2 separate regions of the Homo sapiens genome follow, and region 2 is linked to region 1. Evidence: promoter capture Hi-C in human tissues and cell types (Jung and others, 2019). All regions are on one chromosome and are shown on one strand. The core of a region is centred on a gene start or on the middle of the fragment in contact, and the rest is flanking DNA. Distances in the headings are between cores, read along the strand shown.

Region 1 (5,298 bases), core at 125-2,624:
GTAAGTATGTAAACTAAACAGGCCACTAATCCTAAGTCTCTGTCTGTGTCTGGAAAAATTCTCTCCTAATACATGCAAGTTAAGAGACCGGCTATCAACGCATTCCTTAAGGTTAGGTCAATTTCATTAAAACCTCGGTTGTTCTTTGACTTCAAGAACCTCACCAAATAACCCATATATAAAAGCCAAGTTCAACTGAAAGGTGGGAGAGGAAGGGTCTAAGGAGGAGGGCGTTTCCCGGGAGAACGCCCAGAGCTCGGCTCACCTGGCGATCCTAATTACAGGGGAGTTTCACCCCCACATTCTTGGGCGCTTTCTTTTCTTAGAGGAAACTCGAGCTTGTGTCTTTGGTCCCGGAGGGCTTAAGCCCGGCAGCCAGGACAGCACGGGTCACTGATTCCAAGAAGTTGGGAGGAGGACGTGGGCCCCACCGACGCACAACAGACCCCTCCCCAACTTAAGTGCACTAGTTGTAAAATGTGTAGCTGGTCAGGGGATGGGGGGTGGTCTCCAGAGCTCTGAGGGTCAGGGAAGAGGAGAAGGGACGGGGAGGAGAAGGGACAGGGGAGGCGGAGAAGGGCCAGGAGAGGAGGGGGAGACACACGGGGAAGGAGGAAGAACCAAGAGGAGGGGGAGGGGGAGGGGGAGGGAGGGGGATAGACTGGGGAGAAGAAGGGACAGGGGAGGAGGGGGAGACACACGGGGGAGAAGGAAGAACCAGGAGGAGGGGAGGGACAGTGTCGAGGGGCAGGGGAGGAGGGAGAGTGAACGGGGAGCGGAGGGGCAGAGGGAGAGGTACAGCGGGGCGGGAAAGAGAGACAGGGAAGAAGCACAGGGAGGAGGGGAGGGAAGGAGGAGGAAAAGTAGGGGGGAGGGGATGGGGAGGGACTGGGAGGAAGGAGAGGGCCAGGGGAGGAAGAAGAGGGGCTGTGGAGGGCCAGGGGAGGAGTGGGAGAGACCGGGAGAGGTGGAAGGACGCGGGGGAGGGGAGCTGGAGGGAGGGAAAGTACCTTCCCGCGTAAAGTCCCCTTCTGAACCCCGAGGTGGAAAGCCCTGACCTCCCTGAGCCCCGGGCCCTGGGCTTACCCGGTAGGTGCTCTCCGTGAGCCGGTTCACCTCCTCGGGCCCCCGGGACATGGCTGCGGCCGCCGGGCGAGCAAGCGCGGGAGGACGCGGCTGGGCCTCGTGGCCGCCGGACTCCGGGCAGCGGGAGGGCCGGGGCGCGACTAAGGGGCTCTGGAGGGTCGGCCGCCGCCGCAGCCGTCGGCCCGAGAGTGCCCGCGCGCGTCTCCGCTGCGAAAATGTCAAAACTTGCGGCAGCGCCGCCCTGGCCTTCTTCGAGGAGCAGAGGAGAAGCGGCCGGACGCCGCCAGAGGAAGCTGGGCGGGCCGGGCGGCCCCACCTGAGGCGGGCGGGGCAGACGGGGGCGGGGCCGCAGGGCCGGAGGGGCGTGGCGTACCCACCTGAGGCGGCCTGGTGAGCGGGGCCCGGCCGGGGTGGGCGGGGAGGAGGCGGGGCCAGGCAGCTGGAATGGGCGTGGCCAGAGGGAAGCGGGCCCCCCGAGTGGGCGGGGTCACCCCACCTGTGGCGGACAGGGCAGCGAGGCCACGGTGCGCCCCCTCGCGGCTCTCCCAGAGCTCCGGCGACGTAGGGCCCGAGACCCTGGAGTGGGGACCGGTGTGGAGTGGGCTGCTCGCTTTGCTGTTTTGCTAGGGCAAGGGCAGCCTGGGGGTGTTTAGACTGTGGTCCTGGAGCCCTTGTTTGCCTCGCGTGGTGCTGGCCCCGGGGACCCCGAGGCCCACTTCCTCCATGAGGGCTTCCTTCAAGCCCTGCGTTTTGGGGACCAAGGGAAGGGGCCACATTCCCCAGTTGTATTGATTTCCCTGATTGATCTCTTCTTGCCCCGCCGCTCACTGACCCCAAAAGTTAGAGGGACCCGTGGGGGCATCGGCCCTCCTAGGTGGAGAAAACGGGCTGCCACTTGCAGTTTTGAAAGCTCCTGATATATCAAAAAATTAATAAATGCCAGGGTCTAGTTACCGAAATGTTAGTACTTTTTTTTTTTTGAGATGGAGTCTCACTCTGTCGCCTAGGCTGGAGTGCAGTGGTGCGATCTCAGCTTGCTGCAACCTCCGCTTCCCAGGTTCAAGCGATTCTCCTGCCTGGCATGAGCCATCCTGCCTGGCCCCCAGATAGAAGCTTTTTGTTTGTTTTTGAGACAGAGTTTCACTCTTGTCCCCTCAGGCTGGAGTGCAGTGGTGCTCTCTCAGCTTGCTGCAATCTCTGCCCCCCAGGTTTAAGCAATTCTCCTGCCTCAGCCTCTCGAGTAGCTGAGATTACAGGTGCACGTGCCACCAAGCCAGGCTAATTTTTTTGTATTTTTAGTAGAGACGGGGTTTCACCATGTTGGCCAGGTTGGTCCCGAGCTCCTAACCTCAGGTGATCCGCCCTGCTCAGCCTCCCAAAGTGCTGGGATTACAGGCTTGAACCACCGCGCCCGGCCCAGTAGTACATTTTTAAACTTTACATTAACAACGACCTTTAACTCAATGCAGTGTAACCATGCTACTCACGAGATTGTTGTAGGGTTTAGAAAACCACCTGAGCTGAAGTGTTAGGGAAGCCTCTCTTCTTGTCATCACTCAAACTCTGTGGAGGTGTGTGGCTCCTGGGCTCCCTATTTTGTCTCCATCCCGGCCTCAGCCCTGCCCAAGGGTGAGGCAGCTGCCTTCTTTGGGCCTCTCTTCCAGGATTATGTACCTTGGGCTGGGTGACAGCCTTCTCCCCAGTAAGAACCACCATTTAGCTACCTGAGACCCGCACCCAACAAGGGCAGAGGTCTTATTCTGATTTTTTAAAACCTCTGGGCTTGGTGGCTCATGCCTGTAATCCTAGCACTTTGGGAGGCCAAGGCAGGCGGATCACTTGAGGTCAGGAGTTCGAGACCAGCCTAGCCAACATGGTGAAACCGCCCTGCCCCCGTCTCTACTAAAAATACAAAAATTAGCCAGGCATGGTAGCACGTGCACCTGTAATCTCAGCTACTCGGGAGGCTGAGGCAGGAGAATTGCTTAAACCTGGGAGGCAGAGATTGCAGTGAGCTGAGATAGCACCACTGCACTCCAGCCTGAGGGACAAGAGCGAAACTCTGTCTCAAAAACAAACAAACAAAAAGCTTCTATCTGGGGGCCAGGCAGGATGGCTCATGCCTGTAATCCGAGCACTTCGGGAGACCAAGGCAGGAGGACTGGTTGAGTCTAGGAGTTCGAGGCCAGCCTAGGCAATATAGGGAGCCCACCCCCATCTCTGCAAAAAATATAATTAAAAACATTAGCCAAGTGTGATAGTGTGCATCTGTAGTCCCAGCTATTCCGGAGGCTGAGGTAGGAGGATGGCTTGAGCCCAAGAGGTTGCAGTGAGCTGTGATGGTGCCACTGCATTCCAGCTTGGGCCACAGAGTGAGACTCTGTTTCAAAAAACAAACAAAAATGCCAAAACGTCTATGTGAGTGCAATTGCATCTTTTATGGGCTGTTAAGATGTGAGACTTCTGGCCAGGCGCAGTGGCTCACGCCTGTAATGCCAGCACTTTAGGAGACTGAGGCAGGCAGATCACCTGAGGTCAGGAGTTTGAGACCAGCCTGACCAACATGGAGAAACCCCGTCTATACTAAAAATACAACATTGACCAGGTTTGATGGTGCATGCCTAAATCCCAGCTACTCAGCAGGCTGAGGCAGGAGAATCACTTGAACCTGGGAGGCTGAGGTTGTGGTGAGTGAGATCACGCCATTGCACTCCAGCCTGGGCAACAAGAGCGAAAATTTGTCTCAAAAAAAAAAAAAAAAGAAAAAGAAAAGAAAAGAAAAAAGAAAGATGTGAGACTTCTAAACTAATCTTGTGATAAAGTTCACTAGGAAATATACACAATGAAGGCACTGTGTGGCCCAGATGGGAACATCAAGAGGGTGAGTACCACTGGACTTAGAACAGAAACCACCACCTGGACTTGGGGACTGTTTTATTGGGTTTTGCAAACTATAAAACACATCATGCAGCTAGGCACAGCGGCTCACGCCTGTAATCCCAGCACTTTGGGAGGCCAAGGTGGGTGGATCACTTGGGGTCAGGAGTTAGAGATCAGCCTCACCAATATGGTGAAGCCCCGTCTCTACTAAAAATACAAAAATTAGCCGGGTGTGGTGGCAGGCACCTGTAGTCCCAGCTACTCGGGAGGCTGAGACAGGAGAAGCGCTTGAACCCGGGAGGCGGAGGTTACAGTGAGCCGGGATCTCATGCCACTGCACTGCAGCCTGGGCAAGAGAGTGAGACTCTGTCTCAAAACAAACAAGCAAACAAAAAAAACTTACCATTCTTGGGAACCAAAATGTTATGTCTTCCTGATGTTAGGGGGAAATAACACATCAGTCCCAAGTTTCTGGCAATGGAAGCAGGTGCCTTCTTCTTTAACAGATTTACAGTATTTAGTTCATGAGGTTTGCCAACTGGGTTTCACTTCCCATATGGGAGATGCATTCATGACTTTATAATTTCTACCATTATGTATTCGGCTCTGCAAGTATGTCTGTTGGTTTTTATTGAAACTTGAAAATAGGCTGGGCGCGGTGGCTCACGCCTGTAATCCCAGCACTTTGGGAGGCCGAGGCGGGTGGATCACAAGGTCAGGAGATCGAGACCATCCTGGTCAACGTGGTGAAACCCCGTCTCTACTAAAATACAAAAATCAGCCGGGCGTGGCAGTATGTGCCTGTAGTCCCAGCTACTTGGGAAGCTGAGGCAGGATAATTACTTGAACTCGGGTGGCGGAGGTTGCAGTGAGCCGAGATCGTGCCACTGCACTCCAGCCCGGGCGACAGAGTGAGATTCTGTCACAAACAAACAAACAAACAAACAAACAAACAGTAGTGCAGTTCTCAGCTCAGTGCTTGGCACATAGATGCCTGGGAGGTCTTGGCTGAACAAAATACAAATGAGTATTGATGATCTGCTGTGCAGGCAGGGAGTCTGCTGGGGGCTGCAGTGTGCAGAATGAACTGGGCTTGAACCATGCCTGTGCAGAAGGTAGAATTTGAGGACTACAGTGAAAGCCATCCAGGTACAGCCAATCATGCCATAGGTGGACAAGTGGATGTGATCTCAAAAGGCCATTTGTTTTAGACTCTTCAAGTACATTTGCTGGTTTCATCTAAACTTGAAAATCCACAGTCTGTTATTCTGAGACTTCATGATGCTCAGAGATAAAGAAGGCAAATCAATAGGAAGGGATGACTCAGGAGAA
Region 2 (5,414 bases), core at 421-2,920, 270 kb after region 1:
GGAAATGGCACTGGGCATCCAATCCTTGCCGTCTGCCAGAGACAGGCAGATTTGGCAATACCACTTAGAACATGACTTTGCACACTTTATTTATTAGAACTTCAGTTTATTCAGTTGGAAAATGAGGGCAATAACAGTATCTCCCTCCCAGGGTTGCAGTGCCTAGAATACAGTAAGTGTTTAATAAATGGTAAATCTCATTGTAATTATTATAATAGGGAAACAATATTTACATAAAAAGGCTAGCACAGCCCCAGTTAATGTCGTTCTGGAAAATTACTGAACTATCCCAAATTATACAGTAATATATCCCAAAATATATTCTACCATCCCTGCGGAGGTAGCTTAAAGTTTTACTTCAAGAGTCCTGAGGCTGAAGAGGGTGGAAATTGCTAACCTGTTTTCTTTGGAGCCAGTCAGAAGAGCCCATCAGGCGGAATAAACCGAGAAGGAGGGAGGTCGACCAGGAAGCTTACAGGACCACAGTCAGGGCCCTGCTCTGCCCATGTGAGGTTGTGATTCTGCGGAGACAAGCGAGGATGGAGACTTCCCAGAACTGGAATGACTCAGATTTTCACCTGCTGCCCTCTCCCTGGTGGAGCTGGCACCCTCTCCCCACCCCACCCACTTCTGTGATGCATTGTTTTGGCTGTTAAGCATACAGAAAGCGGATGGAAGCTGGAGGCTGGAGGCCGGGGCTCCGAGGTGAATATGCAGATGTTGAGAGCTGGGACCAGCACTTGAGCTGGCTTCACCTTGGAACTGGGGGCTGCAGCAGGAGATGCCCCAGTTCCTGGTGTCCCATGGGGATGAAAACTGGGAAGGTCAAGCAGACAGATTTCTGCAGAAAGGAGGTTCCAGCCCTTGTTTAACCAGCCCAGGTGCCTCTGAGAGCCTCCAAGGGTCGTGGTCCACAAGGAGGAGAGTGGACAAGATCCCCATGGGGACCCCCCATGGCTGTTCTGCTTGGGGCTGGTCTCCAACGAGCCCTATCAGTCCCGGGCTTTGGGGAGGTCACGTGGGCATGTCCCAGGGCCCTGTGCAGGCGCAGCTCAGCCCTTGGGTCCCGAGTGGGTCATTTGAGCTGATACAATGTCTGGGGAAGCACAGGTATCCCAGAAATGGGTGGGAGATGCTGGATGCCACTCCACACGCTGCACACGGATGGTATGGAGCTGGCTTGACCGGGCTTGGCTGGTGTCACTCTGCTTAGTGTCATGAGTGTCCATCTGTCCTGTGACCTCCTGGGGCTGCCTGTCTCCTTCCCAGTACTTCAGCAGCAGGGAAGCCTAGGAGAGACTCAAGAGGACATCCTACCTGGTGAAGCCATTCATACATATTGAGCATACATAATGCACCGACTGCATGCACTGCCCTGGGCCAGACCAGTGTTAGAGACAGCCCTGGTCAAGTGCTGAATGCAGCTCTTGATTTTGCTTTGAAGTCTGCTGATTTCTCCCCTCTAGGATGATTTTTTTTAAAGAGATAACTCAGAGTTCGTCAATTGGAAAGAGACACGAAGGAAAAATTAAATTTGGAGTATCGGTGTCCTAAATGGTCAATCCAAGTTGACACCAAGCAGCTGGCCCTCTAGGGAAATCAGCCTCCCCTAAGGGGGTTGGATTTGGGGAGGAAATTGGAGGACTACTGCCTGGCACACAGGTGTCCTCTTCTGAGGCGTCTGGGCTAAGCTGGGCCGGGGAATAATTGTCCATCAGCCCACCCCTCCTCCTAGCAGGTCCCTGACTTGACCCATTGGTTTAAGCTTCTCATTAACCTCCAAGATCGTTCCTGTCTTGGGGCCTTTGCACCTACTGTCTCATCTCCTTGGGCAGAAATGCTCTTTTCCCAATTCTGTGGCCAGAGCCCCTCCTTTCTCACTCTGCAGGGGTCACCTCTTAAGGCAGAGTAGCCACCCAGTCACTCTTCACCCTCTGCGCCTTTCTCATAGTTTTTTTCTTTTTTAGAATTTTATTTTAGAGACAGGGTCTCACTCTGTAGCCCAGACCGGAGCACCATGGTGCCATCATAGCTCACTGCAGCCTCGAACTACACATTTCTGGGCTCAAGCAATCCTCCTGCCTCAGCCTCTCGAGTAGCTGTGACTACAGGCGCAGCCCCCACACCTGGCTAATTTATTTAATTTTTATACTGAGGAGGGTCTTGCTATGTTGCCCAGGCTGGACTCGAACTCCTAGCCTCATGTGATCCTCCCATCTCAGTCTCTCAAATTGCTAGGATTATAGGCATGAGCCACTGTGCCTGGCCCCATGGTTTTATTCCTTTTTTTTTTTTAATTTCATTTTACTTTCAGTTCTGGGATACATGAGCAGAATGTGCAGGTTTGTTACATAGGTATACACGTGCCATGGTGGTTTGCTGCACCTATCAACCTGTCATCTAGGTTTTAAGCCCGGCATGCATGACACATTTGTCCCAGTGCTCTCCCTCCCCTTGCCCCCCATCCTCCAACAGGCTGTGGTGGGTGATGTTCCCCTCCCTGTGTCCATGTGTTCTCATTGTTCAACTCCTACTTATGAGTGAGAACATGCGGTGTTTGGTTTTCTGTTCCTGTGTTAGTTTGCTGAGAATGATGGCTTCCAGCTTCGCCCATGTCCCTGCAAAGGACACGAACTCATTCTTTTTTATGGCTGCAGGCTTTATTCTTTACCAGCACTTATCTTGACATGGTCTCATAACATCCTTCTCCTCCCACTAGGGGATAAGCCCTGTAGCCCCAGTACGTAGAAAAGATCATAGTGCATAGTAGGTCCTCAGTAAATATTATTAGGATGGATGAAAGGGTCCCATTTTACAGATGAGACAACTGAGACCCAGAAGCCAATAGACTTACCAAAGCCCACATCATGGGTCAGTGCCAGGATTTGAACCCAGTCTTCTGTGCTCTTTCTTCCTAGCACTGCCCTCCCTCTCAAATGCTCCAGGTCTCTTCTCATCTCAGCCTGATGATTCCAGCTCTATACTTACAGCCGCTTGACCTTATCCACAAGCCACTTACCTTCCTGTGCCTCAGTTTCCCCTTCTGTAAACTGGGAGTGATAGTGATATTGCCTGTCTTAGAGTACATGTAAATGGTAAATGAGACCACATACACTGGGCCTTGGAGCCAAGTCTTAAAAATGAGCATGGGCCGGGTGCTGTGGCTCATACCTGTAATCCCAGCACTTTGGGAGGCCAAATTGGGAGGATCACTTGAGCCTAGGAGTTCGAGACCAGCCTGGGCAATGCAGCGAGACCCTACCTCTAAAAAAAAGAAAAGAAAAGAAAAATTAGCCAGGTGTGGTGCCGTGCACCTGTGGTCCCAGCTACTTGGAAGGCTGAGGTGGGAGGATTGCTTGAGCCTGGGAAATAGAGGCTGCAGTGAGCTATGATCACACCACTGCACTCCAGCCTGGTTGACAGAGCAAGACCCTGTCTCAAAAAACTGCCTGAGTTCATTCATAGCTGCTCTCTGCCCTCCACTGGTATCTCAAAACATCCTCGCCATCCTTGCTACGTGGACGTTTCTTTGTTGTTGTTGTTTTTAGACAGAGTCTTACTCTGTCACCCAGGCTGGAGTGCAGTGGCACAATCTCGGCTCAACGGCAACCTCCACATCCCGGATTCGAGTGATTCTCCTGCCCCAGCCTCCTGAGTAGCTGGAGCTACAAGTGCCCAACACCATGCCTGGTTGATTTTTGTATTTTTAGTAGAGATGGGGTTTCACCACATTGGCCAGGCTAGTCTTGAACTCCTGACTTTAGGTGATCCACCCACCTCAGCCTCCCAAAATGCTGGGATTACAGGCGTGAGCCACTGTGCCTGGCCAGACATTTCTGATATTACAAACTGGCCCTTGTACTGAATAAGACTGGGACCTCCACATTGAATCACACTGGGACCCTTGGGCCAACACAGGCTATTGGCCCAGGGCGACAGTGATGTGTGCAGTGATGACAGTGGGCACTGCCAGGTCAGGAAGACTACTGGGGGGCGGGAGTGGGTATTCTAGTGCCAGACCCTCTTACATGCGATATCTGTGCCTTCCAGAAGAGCTGAGACTATAACTGTAGATTTTGGTATCTGATCTGGCAACTGATGTTTTTTCTGAAAATGATGTCACCGTGACCTTCCTGGATGTCTGCATCAGCTGTCCCTGCTGTCAAGATTTCTCCCTGGGCCTGGGCTGTTGAGCTCCCTGCCTGTGATTTGTGGAACTGCTGGCATTGCAGAGGGAAGAAGGGGAGCAGGGCAGCAGGTCTGCCATGTATAGTTGTGCAGTTTGCAGACTTGAGGTCCTAGGGAGGCTCCGTGCACATGGCGGGTTTCTTCAGACCATCCTTGCATTCCTGCTATTTTCATGCTTGTATTCTTGCTTGCTGTCTCTGAGACAAAGTAGCAAACATAAGACACCAGGTTGGCCAAGTGCGGTGGCTCATGCCTGTAATCCCAGCACTTTGAGAGTCCGAGGCGGGTGGATCACCTGAGGTCAGGAGTTTGAGACCAGCCTGGCCAACATGGTGAAATCCGGTCTCTACTAAAAAATACAAAAATTAGCCGGGCATGGTGGCAGTTACTCAGGAGGCTGAGGTGGGAGAATCGCTTGAACCCAGGAGGTGGAGGTTGCAGTGAGCCAAGATTGTACCATTGCACTCCAGCCAGGGTGACAAGAAAGAAACTCTGTCTCAAACAAAACAAAACAAAATGAAACAAAAAACACCAGGTTTGCTCATTTCTTGTAGCATCAGAATTTCACAAAGTCCCTGACTGTGAAGGTGGGCAGCTCTCCCGAAAGATGCTTTAAAGACAAAACAAGACAGAGCACACAGCCCACCACGTCTCTTGCCCGAGTCACTGCATTCCTCAAAACTTAGACTGGGAATGGTGATTCATGCCTGTAATCCCAGGATTTGGCGGGGCCAAAGCACACCTGTACTCCCAGCTACTCAGGAGGCTCAGGCAGGAGAATCACTTGAGCCCAAGAGGTGGAGGCTGAAGTGAGCCTTGATCACACAACTGCACTCCAGCCTGGGTGACAGAGCAAGACCCTGTCTCTTAAAAAATAATAAGAATAAAATTAAATGACCCTAGTCCTTGCCTTCTTCTGCACACAAAATGACATCTAACAGGGTTGTGATTACACTTCTGTAAGCTATAACCAGTTGTTCTTTTGCACTTAAACTTTGATGTGATTTTACACATACTGAACCTCCACTACCTGTATGTAAGCGGTGAATTAAAACAGTAATTGGTCCCTAGCAAGCAGACTACAAAAAACAAACACAAAAGCAAAAAAGGAAGAAACACTGATTGCTTCAGAGAAGTCTGATTGAACCTCTCTAAAGGGCTGCCCCTGGGCTATGGGCCTCAGTCTATAGTCCTCAGTAAGACTTCTGAATAAAATGAACTTTAAT

What was found. The method cuts DNA at HindIII sites, captures the fragments that hold promoters and counts their contacts. A contact is called where the count stands out against the background at its distance.
Region 2: a fragment that was not itself captured here is called in contact with the fragment with the promoter of BAIAP2L1 in region 1 in 2 of the 25 tissues and cell types used here (H1 embryonic stem cells and dorsolateral prefrontal cortex).

What each region holds. Positions count from the first base shown.
Region 1 is chr7:98,399,716-98,405,013 of GRCh38, forward strand. BAIAP2L1 (BAR/IMD domain containing adaptor protein 2 like 1) reads right to left here and starts at 1,375. Exons shown (of 14, transcript NM_018842.5): 1 at 1,087-1,375. The coding sequence starts at 1,137. RefSeq lists a silencer at 1,049-1,708. The HindIII fragment of the contact is 4,393 bases long and covers 1-2,687 here.
Region 2 is chr7:98,674,054-98,679,467 of GRCh38, forward strand. No RefSeq gene overlaps it. Among named protein-coding and RNA genes, the nearest start is that of NPTX2, 59 kb to the left of the region's middle. The HindIII fragment of the contact is 3,848 bases long and covers 1-3,594 here.